Regions from separate parts of the Homo sapiens genome. Here regions 1 and 3 are each linked to region 2. Evidence: promoter capture Hi-C in 16 types of primary human blood cells and fetal thymus (Javierre and others, 2016). All regions are on one chromosome and are shown on one strand. Each heading gives the region's core, a stretch centred on a gene start or on the middle of the fragment in contact. The rest is flanking DNA. Distances are from core to core; before and after follow the strand shown.

The links. The method cuts DNA at HindIII sites, captures the fragments that hold promoters and counts their contacts. A CHiCAGO score of 5 or more calls a contact.
Region 1: a contact is called between a fragment that was not itself captured here and the fragment with the promoter of CYP46A1 in region 2, in 1 of 17 cell types (endothelial precursors). The highest score is 5.9, in endothelial precursors.
Region 3: a contact is called between a fragment that was not itself captured here and the fragment with the promoter of CYP46A1 in region 2, in 1 of 17 cell types (endothelial precursors). The highest score is 9.1, in endothelial precursors.

What each region holds. Positions count from the first base shown.
Region 1 is chr14:99,962,787-99,967,097 of GRCh38, forward strand. It overlaps the pseudogene VDAC3P1. Among named protein-coding and RNA genes, the nearest start is that of EVL, 100 kb to the right of the region's middle. The HindIII fragment of the contact is 917 bases long and covers 1,669-2,585 here.
Region 2 is chr14:99,681,467-99,685,895 of GRCh38, forward strand. It overlaps CYP46A1 (cytochrome P450 family 46 subfamily A member 1), which reads left to right and starts at 2,832. Exons shown (of 15, transcript NM_006668.2): 1 at 2,832-3,070. The coding sequence starts at 2,952. RefSeq lists an enhancer at 1,327-1,396 and a silencer at 2,637-3,216. The HindIII fragment of the contact is 4,802 bases long and covers 1-3,652 here.
Region 3 is chr14:99,939,994-99,943,924 of GRCh38, forward strand. It overlaps EML1 (EMAP like 1), which reads left to right. Exons shown (of 22, transcript NM_004434.3): 22 at 1-2,067. The coding sequence ends at 119. LOC102724682 (a long non-coding RNA gene) reads right to left here. Exons shown (of 6, transcript XR_007064328.1): 5 at 2,410-2,470; 6 at 2,011-2,273. Among named protein-coding and RNA genes, the nearest start is that of EVL, 120 kb to the right of the region's middle. RefSeq lists an enhancer at 1-264. The HindIII fragment of the contact is 2,584 bases long and covers 1-2,550 here.

The sequences.
Region 1 (4,311 bases), core at 877-3,376, 280 kb after region 2:
GGTTTCAACTTTAGTCTTTTGCATGTGGGTATCTAGTTGTTTCAACACCATTTATTAAAGCCTGTTCTTTAACTTGGCGCCCCTGTTGATAATCAATTGACTGTAAAGTTAAGGGTTTATTTCTCAACTCTCTATCCTATTTTTTTTTCTTTGAGATGGAGTCTTGCTCTGTGGCCCAGGCTAGAGTGCAGTGGCGTGATCTTGACTCACTGCAACCTCCGCCTCCTGGGTTCAAGCGATTCTCCCGCCCTCAGTCTCCCGAATAGCTGGGACTACAGGCGCATGCCACCACACCCGGCTAATTTTTTGTATTTTTGGTAGAGATGGGGTTTCACCATGTTGGCCAGGCTGGTCTCGAACTCCTGACCTCAGGTGATCCACCTGCCTCAGCCTCCCAAAGTGCTGGGATTACAGGTGTGAGCCACCACTCCCTGCCTGGACTGTCTATTTTATTCCATCAATGTATATACCTGTACTTATTCTTTTTCAAGACTCTTCTGGCTATTCTATGGTCCCTTGCATTTCCAGATGAATTTTAGGATCAGCTTTCTAATTTCTGCACAAAATAAAAGTGGAAGCAGCTGGGATTTTGACAGGAATTGCATCGAATCTGTAGGTCAATTTGGGCTCTCTTGCCATTTTAATAATATTAGCTCTTTCAACCCATAAATGGATATCTTTCCGTTTATAGGTTTTCTTTAATTTCTTTCGGAGTCGTTTCATAGTTTTCAGTGTACAAGTCTTACACTTTTTTTGTTAAATTCATTCATAAGTATTTTATTGTTTTGATGTCATGTAAATAGAATTGTTTTCTTAACTTCATTTTCAGATTCTTCATAGCAAGTCTATCGAAATACAATTGATGTTTATATGTTTATCTTATATGCTTGGACCTTGCAGAACTTGTTTATTAGTTCTGATAGTTTTTGAGTGGGTTCCTTAGGAATTTCTATAGGTAAGATAATGTCATCTGAAAATAAAAATGGTTTTACCTGTTTTTGTCACTAAAGTTCTCTTGGAACACAGTGACATCCACTCACATATGGTCTATGGCTGTCTTCAAGTCAAAGGCCAAGGGAAGTAGTTGTGTTCCCGGAAGCAAGTCAGGTCCAGCTGCCTCTTCTTGAGTCCCAATAATGAGAAGCAGACAAACTAGCGAAGAAGGGAATTGGCCAGGTGCGGTGGCTCATGCCTGTAATCCCAGCACTTTGGGAGGCCGAGGCGGGCGGATCACCAGGTCAGGAGATCGAGACCATCCTGGCTAACATGGTGAAACCACGTCTCTACTAAAAATACAAAAAAAAAAAAAAAAAAAAAAAAAAAAATTAGCCTAGCGTGGTGGCGGGTGCCTGTAGTCCCAGCTACTTGGGAGGCTGAGGCAGGAGAATGGCGTGAACTCTGGAGGCGGAGTTGCAGCGAGCAGAGATTGCACCACTGCACTCCAGCCTGGGCGACAGAGTGAGACTCCGTCCCAAAAAAAAAAAAAAAAAGGGAATTTATTGCTGTAACCGGATACAGGCAGAAGGCCAGAGATAATTCCACCAGACCAACTCAAAGTGTTAGAATTGCTTATACAGGTTGGAGTTATGTGCCTACGTGCAGCACAACATTCGCCTAAGTCTATTGGTAACTAATTTTGTTTCAACTAGAAGGTCAGAGGCAAAAAAAAGCTTGTGGGAGACAGGCCCTTGGGGGTGGAGGTCTTTGATTTCATAAGAACCTGAGAAAGATTTTTCTAAGATATGTGTAACACACCAACTTACTGTGACCTGGGAAAGGCTGCTGAGGATGTCTTCAACAAAGGATATGGCTTTGGCATGGGGAAGATAGACCTGAAAACCAAGTCCTGTAGTGCAGTGGAATTTTCTACTTCTGGTCATGCTTACACTGATACAGGGAAAGCATCAGGCAACCTAGAACCCGAATGTAAGGTCTGTAACTATGGACTTACCTTCACTCAAAAACGGAACACAGACAATACTCTTGGGACAGAAATCTCTTTGGAGAATAAGTTGGCTAAAGGGTTGAAACTGAGTCTTGATACCATATTGGTACCAAACACAGGAAAGAAGAGTGGGGAATTGAAGGCCTCCTATAAATGGGATTGTTTTAGTGTTGGCAGTAATGTTGATCTAGATTTTTCCGGACCAACCATCTATGGCTGGGCTGTGTTGGTCTTTGAAGGGTGGCTTGCCGGCTATCAGATGAGTTTTGACACAGCCAAATCCAAATTGTCACAGAATAATTTCGCCCTGGGTTACGAGGCTGCAGACTTCCAGCTGCACACACATGTGACCGATGGCACTGAATTTGGAGGTTCTATCTACCAGAAGGTTAATGGGATTGAAATGTCAATAAACCTTGCTTGGACGGCTGGAGTAACAACACCCATTTTGGCATTGCTACTAAGTACAAGCTGGATTGTAGAACTTCTCTCTCTGCTAAAGTAAATAATGCCAGCCTGATTGGACTGGGTTATACTCAGACCCTTCGACCCGGAGTCAAATTGACCCTTTATCAGCTTTAATCGATGGAAACAACTTCAGTGCAGGAGGTCACAAGGTTGGCTTGGCGTTTGAACTGCAAGCTTAATGTGGTTTGAGGAAAGCATCAGATTTGTCCCTGGAAGTGAAGAGAAATGAACCCACCATGTTTTGGCCCTACAATCCTTCTGTGAAATTTCAAAAGTGTGAACTTTTTACTCTTCCAAAAAATTGTAATCCTCCCCACACTGAAGTCTAGGGGTTGTGAGTCCCTCCTGAGGGGAGGCGCTGGAAAGCATGCCTGGAAGCTGTCCTGTTTGTGCCACGTTTCGGTTCAGTTCTGCAGTGTTATTAAATGTGTTCCTCGGCGACAGTGTGGTGTCATGTTAGAGGAGACGATCTGAACCTCCAGTTTGTACCTCGTGTCCTGCATGTTCACACCATTTTTTTCATGACTCTGTAATATATTGGTCTCTGTGCTATTGTGGAATCTTTGATTTTGCATCAGAGTAAAATAAAATAAACCCATCACATTTGGAACATAAAAAAAAAAAAACAAGCTAAGTCTGATTAAGCTGTGTGGGCCCCAGTACCTTCAAGGCCTGTCTCCTGTGGTACCAGAGTGATTATTTCTATCTTATCTCCTTTACAGCTTGGTCTGGAGTGCTGCCTTAGACTCTCTGATGAATCTATTCAAACAGCTGCCTCTGTTACCTTGACTCGTCTCAGATTTTGTCGACCCGAGGCAGGTCCTGGCACTAGGAATGTTAGATTCTATTATTTTGACTTGCTCCAGGTTAGGGAGAAGCCCATGCAAGGCTTCTACTGACCGTATGCTTTATTTGTAGCTTTGATGTCTGGGCACCGATTGCCCTAGGTTTAACTATTTGCTCAGTGTTAAGGCAGCGCTGTGGAAATCTGTGTAACTGGGGTGCTGTGCAGGCCTGTCTGTCGACTGTCATACAGGCCCGTCTGTGTGATTGTCAGGGAGAATTGGCCTGCCACAGTTGTGACAGACCACATGGCTTTGAAAAAGCCAAAACTATTTACCAGCTGGTCCTTTGCAGAAAGTGTACTGACCCTTGTTCTGCAGGAGTGTCTTTTGTTTTTCACTGCCTCTAATTAATTTCTTAATTTTGAAATAATGTATTTTCTATTCTCAAGATTTTTTTGTTTGTTTTCCAATTGCTCTTAGGCAAGATCTTCTTGACTCTCCTCATCACTTCTCTACGATTCCCTCCTTTAGACATGCCACATTCTGACTGCGCAGCCTGGCGGGAAGACCGTGCCTCCCTGGGTGGGGAGGCTGCAGCCTTTAAACTTCCCAACACCCCGACCCCTGACACGTCTGCTCGCATTCGGATGCCCGGGCCTCCCGGCCTCCTTGCGAATGAAGTGCCGGCGGCTCCCACAAAGGCCTGGCTGCCACAGTCCCCACGGTAATTGCGAGACAGCAGGCAGGAGAAGTGAGCGGGAAGTTTCTTCCCCAAAGCTGATGGTGAACGGGCCCCCAAGCTGGGACCCGATGACTAGCTGGGAGTGAGGAGAGATTTTGGCTTTCCTAGGTGTGAGCTGGATGGGGCTTCCCTTCCCAGTGGCCTCAGGGCTCCTGGGAAGGGGCACGGGCTCCAGGGGGACCCTTAGGCCTCTCTAGGATGGCTGGCTGGTTGTCCCAGGCATGTACTTGGCTTAGTTTTCTTCTTCAATTAAGTGGAGACATTAAGTTCCCATAAAGTGGGAACACTCAGACTTGGCTGCAGAACAGCAGGCCTGCTCCCGCCCAGCCCTGTGACACAGCCAGGTGGGAGCAGGTCCCTGGAGAAACTCC
Region 2 (4,429 bases), core at 1,582-4,081:
TGCTCCCTGATGCTGCTCTACACCTGCTTTCTGTGGGGCTCCAGGCTGTGCCTGGAGCTGTTCAGGACCTGGCTCTTCCCTCAAGGAACTGTGACAGTAGGTAGTCAGGCAGACATGAGCAGGGCAGGAGAGGGCCCTCCCCCAACGAGGAATGTCAAGTGGCCATCAGATGATGGTCAGGCAGTTGATAAACTGCTTCTCTCAAATAATAATTGGTCGCAGCCAGTGCCAGGGAGAGGCAGTCTCCCAACAGATGGAAACACCTGAAGCTGGTGATCAGCTTCCCGATAAGATCTCAGGAGCTGGGCGAGTGGGCTCAAGCATGCACACTAAGAGGCAAAATGGCAGCGATTAACTGGTAGATGACCTTCCTCTAGGAACACCGGTAAGGGAAAAACACCTCAAATGAGCGCGCACATAACTTCAGTAAACACAGCTGTGCATTCGGCCCCTCCCAGGTGCTGACAGGCCACCGCGCACGCAGACAGCCCGCCCCAAGGGAAGAATCAGGGGCGAAGAGAGATGCAACCCCCCGGGAGCATGCCAACCTACAAAACCCCGAGTCAAAGGTCAAGCCACACACTTGCCTCTCTCAAGTCACCTGCTTGGCCCTCTTCTAAGTATACTTTACTTCCTTTCATGCCTACTCCAAAACTTTTTTTTTTTTTTTTTTTTTTTTTTTTTCTGAGACGGAGTCTCGCTCTGTCACCCAGGCTGGAGTGCAGTGGCGCAATCTCGGCTCACTGCAAGCTCCGCCTCCCGGGTTCACGCCATTCTCCTGCCTCAGCCTCCCCAGTAGCTGGGACTACAGGCGCCCGCCACCACGCCCAGCTAATTTTTTGTATTTTTAGTAGAGATGGGGTTTCTCCGTGTTAGCCAGGATGGTCTCGATCTCCTGACCTCGTGATCCGCCCGCCTCGGCCTCCCAAAGTGCTGGGATTACAGGCGTGAGCCACTGCGCCCGGCCTCTAAAACTTTTAAATACATTTTCACTCCTGCTCTAAAACTTGCCTCTCACTCTGCCTTACGCCCCTCAGTCGAATTCTTTCTTCTGAGGAGGCAAGAACTGAGGCTGCTGCAGACCCATATGGATTTGCTGTTGCTAACAGTACCATTGTTCCAGGGGTCTGGAGAGACAAGGCAAGAGAAAGTCCTCTTCAGACAGTGCGATGCACTGTGTAATCTCAGGGAGCCGTTCCACAAACTGGATACTAAATGTGATGCCGTCACATTTCTTTTCTAGCTAACCACCCCAACCCACCTTCCAGTGCGCAGGAATCCACACCCTCCTTCTTGCAGCCTCATCCTCCCTCCAAATTGCCCTCAAGCCCCGGAGCTTTCACAGCCCACAGGGGACCTGGTGGCTCCGTTCCACACCTCACCCCAGCAGGGCCAGCCTGAGTTACCCTGTGGGCCTGCGGCTGCCTGTCACCGCCGCCACACGGGGGCGCCATAGCAAGCCAACATCCCCGAGTCCAACTGGGCGGCCGGGCCAGGCGCCGGGGGGATGGATGCTCTGCTGCCCACCTGTCCAGGCTGCGGTGGCCCCGAGGGCAGAAGTCCCGCCTCCTCCGTGCTGGGCACGGCTCTTAAGACTTGGCCGTCTCCGTCGCCCCTCAGCCCACACCCCTAACAGCCATGTCCCATGTCCCTAACTATACCTGGGAAGGCGGTACCAAGGTCCCCTTCGTTTTCCAACCCCCAACCTCTCCAGGACTGGCTCAAGCGTGGGGCAGGGGCATTGCCTCTTCTCAGAAACCCAGCAGCATCTACACTCCCTGGGCCTCTACCTCCAGCCCGGGGGACCTTTACCTGGGCTAGGAGTGGGCACACCTGGCCTTCCCCTGCCACGACTTTCACGCTGGGTGGTCCCTCGGGATAGGAATTGGGAACTAAAACGCCCAGAATTGGCCTCATCTTCATACGGGATGGGCAAGGAGACGCGGGTTACGACAGAGGGGGAAGCCCTGGTCATTATTTCGAAAATACCTTCTCCTCCGCTACCCCCGCCTCCCCGGCACATTTCCCGCTTTCCCTGGAGGGCGGACCCAGATTTTCATCCCTCCAACTCCAACTCCTTCGGGCCTGAGCCAGCGCCTCAGATGGGGCTTCGCCTGGTCTAGGAGGGTCCGCAGGCCCCCGAGTCTCTGGGAGAACAGCCTCCGGCCACGCCGTGCGCTCTCGGTCGCAGACACAGGCGTCCCTGGGTCCCGCAGGATCCTGCCACCAGCCCGCGGGCCCCGCTGGCGGACCACGGGCGCTAGGCGTGGACTGTCCGGGCGGAGGAGGCGCCCCGGGGCAACTGGAGAACAACTTTGGGGGTCTGGGGTTCCAAGGAGAAGTTTGGGAACAGTCGGCGTTATGCGGACTTTTGCAGGCTGGGATGGGGTTTCCGGGCAGGTTTGGGGGAAAAAGGAAGGGGCCTAAGACCGCGCGCGGAAAGATGCCGTTATTTGGAGGCGCCGAAGCGGGCGGAGCCAGCCAGCAGGACTTCGCGCCGCCGCCGGGCCAGAGCGCTGAGGATCGGCGTTGCCAGGGACAACGCGTTCTGGGCGGAGCTGCTGCTGGGGCGGACCTGAGTCTGAAGAGGTGGGGGCGGAGCCTGGGGGGCTGAGCCAGAAGCGGAGTTGTGATTGGTGAAGACCACATGCTCGGGGTGGGGCCTGGGCTGGGGCGGTGTGGAGGTTGGGGCGGAGCTCTGGGGGGCGGGGCGGGGCGGGGGAGGGCCCGGAGCGCCGGAGCCGGAGGCGGAGACGTGGTTGGCGGGGACTGTGCGCCCTGGGAGGGGTCGGAGTCGGCGGGGGCGGAGCCGAGCGGGCGGGGAGGGTGCTGGGTCGCGCCTGGCCTGGGGCCGAGGCGGCGCGCGGCGCTGACAGCTGAGTCGGCTCGCGGCCTCCCGGCCCCCTCGGCGCCCGGCCCGACCCTGGCCTGGCCTGCCCTGCCCCGGAGCCATGAGCCCCGGGCTGCTGCTGCTCGGCAGCGCCGTCCTGCTCGCCTTCGGCCTCTGCTGCACCTTCGTGCACCGCGCTCGCAGCCGCTACGAGCACATCCCCGGGCCGCCGCGGCCCAGGTGAGCGGGGCTGGGGGCGGGGCCTGGCTGGGGTGCTGGGACTGGGGGCCTGGGGACAGCGTCTAAGCCGGCGTCCAGGCCGGGGGTCCGGCCTCGCCTAGTGCGCGCGGCCGCTGGGAGTCGGCGGCCCCGAGAGGGGCGCTAACTATTCTTAGTAACAAATTACTCACAGCCGCAGCAGCTGCTGGGCGCCCACCGCGCACAGCTGGGCCCCACAAACGTGATGGCAGCCACAGCCCTTTCAGGTAGGCGCTATTGTTAACCCATCGTTCAGACGAGGAGACTGAGGCGCTCAGAGGCGAAGTCACCTGCCCAAGGTCACACGGTTGGTAAGCCTAGATTTAAGCCCAGGTCAGCCTGCCTCCAAAGTGGGCGCTGTTAACTTTGGGACTTGGACAGGGTCAGCCTGGATTGGAGCACGCTGTACTTCAGTCATGTTTCCTTTTGCTTGTATTTCTGTTCTGGGACACCCCATTTGTCTTCTCCTTAGTACTTACAATTGCATTCTTGGTCCCCACCCCCACGCAACTTACACCCCCCTCAACTTGCCAACCCCCCCCCACCCCCAGCTTAGCTTTGTGAAGCTTAAATTAAATGTGTCATTTCCCTGCTCCAAGGGCTTCCCATCACTTGACAACTAAATGCAGTTCTAAATTAAGTCGGCTGCATGGCCCGCGAGGCCCCTGCCGAGCACTCAGAACCCACTCTGCAGCTTGCTCTTTCCTCTTGCTTTCTCACTACTGCCCCCAGCCTTTCTTCTCCCAGCCTCCCCCTCCCCCCGCCCCCCCCGCAGCTTCCCTCCCCCCGGGTCCTTTTCTCAAGCCTGGGCCTGGCGGGCTTCTTCCTCTGCTTGTCTCAAACAGGCCTTGCCCAGCACCTTGTGTAAAGACCACCCAGCCCCAGACTTCTCAGGGGCCATCACCTCTGAGGTTACCTTCTTTCCACCTGTTGACTGTCTGTTCACCTGTTGACTGTCTCCCCCTCTAGAATGTGAGCCCCGGGAGGACAGGGACACTCTGTGTTCGCTTGTGTATCCCCAGTGCCTGGCGTGTTGCAGATCTCAATAAATATTTGTTGAATGAATGAATAAACAATTGTATTAGACACACTTTTTAAAATCTCAGGACATGAATATTCTGGAAGGCACCCATCTCCAGCACAAGCCAGATGTACTGGCGTTAGAAGCCTGAATCTCTGCTTGATGGGTTCAGGAAAGATCTCTGTGGCTGGTGACATAGGGAGGCACCTGTTCTCCCTGCTGGCTCTCTGCCCTTCTGGTGCTCTCTCTCTCTCTCCTTGCTTAGCTCCTCTGCCTTCTACTTTACCTGGATGCTTCTTCCCCCAGCCTTCCAGGTTTGG
Region 3 (3,931 bases), core at 9-2,508, 260 kb after region 2:
GCCACATCTACGGCGGGCACAGCAGCCATGTCACCAATGTCGATTTCCTCTGTGAAGACAGCCACCTCATCTCCACGGGCGGGAAAGACACAAGCATCATGCAGTGGCGCGTCATTTAGTACCCACCGAGAGCTGTGGGGAGCAGCATGGGCAAGGAAGACACAGACTCGCATTACCCTTGGTCACTGTGATTTCTGTTTTGTTTAAAAAATTCTTACAAACCTCAGGAAAACTGTGCCCTCCGCCGGCTACCTTAGCTTAGCGTGTCAGCGGGCGCCACAGCGGATCAGCGGTTCCGTGTTCACTTTTGTTGTACAATATATGACACAGTGCACATTGAATACCAACAAGGTTGCAACGTTTACATTATAGCCACATCAACAGAAGTAACTGGTATATTCTTAGTAACTTTTCTATGAACTCTTCAAAAATGGTCACAGAATGCCTTTTAAAACATTGTATATAATCTTCACTGTTTCACCATCTAGCTTGCTAAGTCAAATATTTATGATGATAATGAGGTACTGAACCACGATGGCTGTTGAGGAATTGGTCCTAAAAGGACAGATCACTTCAGAAGAGTGAATAACTGATTTGCACAGCTGAATCAGGAGACACAAAGATGAGACTGTGTTTGGTTACATTTTCCAAAGTTTCATTGCATTCTCCCTTGGGGAGGCTGTGAGAGAGGGCTTGTATCCCTCTTGTGCTAAGCAGACTCTACTCCTAACTGACTTCAATATTTCAGCAGGGTACACAGGCGTTTCCAAGTTTCAGTGACACCGTCCTGCCTAACCAGATGCGGTCAGCCTCTTCACACCCACCTGGCTTGCATCCCCCATCCCTTGTTCACACGCCCTGATTCACGGTGAGACATTTTGCCACCTTCTTGTGTATATTACTTGGCATGAGATGATATTGTACTTGTATAGGATTCTAGCAATTCATAATAAATATGTAAGACTAGGCTTTACTGTCTTATGCTTATGGACATTGTATATTTGTATTTTATGACCAAGTAGACCAAGTCAGAAAGATCTCTCTCGAGCGTACCATAAACCTGCAGAGAGAAGTCTCGAAAGGCTCCACCAGGTACCAAGGGCAGCTGCTTTTCCTGTCTTTTGTGCATGGGCGACCCATTACAGTATGAGATAAGATTGAGTTCTGATGCGTTAAACGGAGGTGGCAGAAATTTGTCAAGAAGGCCTTATCCATTTCGATTGTGTGACAGATTGAAATTTATTGTTTACATTGGGGAATGTATCTCAAATTTTTAAATAGAAGAGTAATAAACAGACTTTAAAGCAAATATTAAGATTTTTACTCATTCAAGGCAAGTAAATGAATGGAATTATCTGAGCTCTATGGCACTGGTTGTTTAGAGTGACTGATGAAGTGCAACTTTCAAAAACATTTTTGATGACATCACCAGCCTACTGCAGAAGTGCAGGGCACCAGTAAACACCATGTATTATTGAAGATGAATCTGTTTGTATGTATCCTTGTCAAATATATTCTATAATGAAATAAAATCTGAAAAGTGGATTTCTTATTGACCTATATTCATGAAAGCATATAAATTAAAATATTTAAAATTAGATATGATTCACACTATATTCTGTTTCATATGCAGATTTTATTCTCACCTGGGCCATTTGCAGATGAGACTGTAGTTTGCAGATGAGACTGTAGTTTGCAGATGGCGTGGAAGCATTCATCAGGGGAGATAACCATAAAGGATTTGGCCTAATTACCATACTCAATTGTCAGTTTACGTGGTTTTGTGAATACTGGCAAAAGCAATTGTTTTTAAATTAACAATGGAGAGAATGATAAGATGAGGGAAGGAAAAGGCATTCATTATTGACTTACATGTCAGTAAGGTCTGCTTTTATTTCTATGTACTCCTGTTTGCCAAGCTCAATAATGGACAAAGGATACAAACACACACACATCTACTATTTTAGATAAATGTACTGTTATATATATATGTAAACTACTATTGCTCTCTTTATAATGATTAATCACTTTATTATGAATGAATGAATGAATTTGATGGATTTAAAATGGCTTCATTTCATTTTAATTGAAATTCTTTAACCAGTGCAGTATTAACCTTGCAGGTGTTCACTGTTCACTCACTCACGCGTTAACACAGCGAGCAATGACCCTGTGCCACTGCTCAGCACCTCTCAGGCAAGCAAGGCCTTGAACCTCCAAGATTCTCCCGGAACGAGAGGCTCAGGAACCGCGCAGCTCTTAGCCCAGCTTCCCTGCAGCACGTAAGATGAGGAAAGATGAAAGGAAAGGAAAGATTACGATTTATTTGTAGTTACAATAATTAAGTTTGTTAGCATGAGAGAATTTTCCAGTGAACAAAAAGCCCTCAGGGGATTTTTTTTTATTTACCATTTGAAACTTTGTGAAGATGAAATTGTTGCTTTTGCAGAGTAAAGTCTCCGTGGCAGTCCTGTTTAGATAAGGTCAAGTATCAAGGGAACGCTGGATTTCCTCAAGAACAGGGTAGGTGCTGGCGTTCACATGCTTCAAAGCTTGCAAAAGAGCACAGTTGACCCTTGAACAACACAGGGGTTAGGGGTGCTGACCCCACACGCAGTCAAAGATCTATGTATAACTTTTTACTTTCCAAAAACCTAACTACTGATAGCCTACTGTTGACTGGATGCCTCACTGAGAACAATTTCCACATATTTTGTCAATATGTATTATATAGTACACGCTTGCAATAAAGTAAGCTAGAGAAGATAAAATGTTAAGAAAATTATAAAAGAGGCCAGGCACAGTGGCCCAGCCTGTAATCCCAGCACTTTGGGAGGCTGAGGTGGGAGGATCACTTGAGCCCAGGAGTTCACAACCAGCCTGGGCAACACAGCAGGACCCCATCTCTACCAAAAATTTTAAAAAGTAGCCGAGTATAGTGGTATGTGCCTGTAATCCCAGCTACTCCTGGAGGCTGAGGTGGGAGGATTGCTTGAGCCTGGGAGGTCGAGGTTGCAGTGAGCCTGGAGCAGACCACTGCACTCCAGCCTGGGTGACAAAATGAGACCCTGTCTCACTCTGGGGACTCTGAAGGCTGACAGCCTGCTGCCGCCTGCCTCCAGGGCCTGGGAAGTTGATTTGAAGAGTGACACTACCAGGGCAGGGAGGCCATCTGTCATTCTGCGGGTGTTTGTTTGGGGGATTTTGTAGGCTTGTGACAGCCTGCAGGGAAAGCAGGGCTATTTGATAGATACACTGAGGCTTGGAGAAGGAAATAACTTCCCCAAGACAGGCACTTGTTCCAAACTTGTCTTAATGACATGTGCTGGGCGCTGGGAATATAAGGACGGGCAAAACCACACCAGTGCCTGCCCTGGGGCGCCTACATGGCATCAGAAGAGCCAGAGGTTAGCAGAACGCATGCCCAGCCGCGTGCTAGATGACCACCATATGAGCCAGGAAGGAATTGAGAGCATCTAACTGGAAGACCCGAGTGAGTATGGGGACTCCGGAAAGTTTCCCTGGCAGAAAGAGAAGGAAATGACCCGGGAGAGCGGGGAGAGAGGCACTGGAGGCTGAGGCCAACACTCACAAAACCCTTTTGAGAGGGAAATTCAAGAGCACAGGGTAGGGGCACAGGAGTCCAGGGCAGTTTGTGAGAGGCAGGGCACGGGGGGCATGTTAAGGGCTTTATTCCAAATCCCAACAGCAAAGGGGGGCCGCTGGTGGGTTAGGCAGGGAAGGGTTCCCACTGCAATTCTGAAAGGGCTTCCAGGCCGGGGGCTGATGGGTGGGGGCTTTACTGTCATCTCAGTGGGCAGTGATGGTGGCGTGGAGTGGGGAGGTGGGAGCACTGTCCCAGAGAGGTTTGTGGGGTGGCGTCGGCAGAGCTCGCAGGTGGAGTGGATGTGGGCGGGGCTGAGTCCAAGGT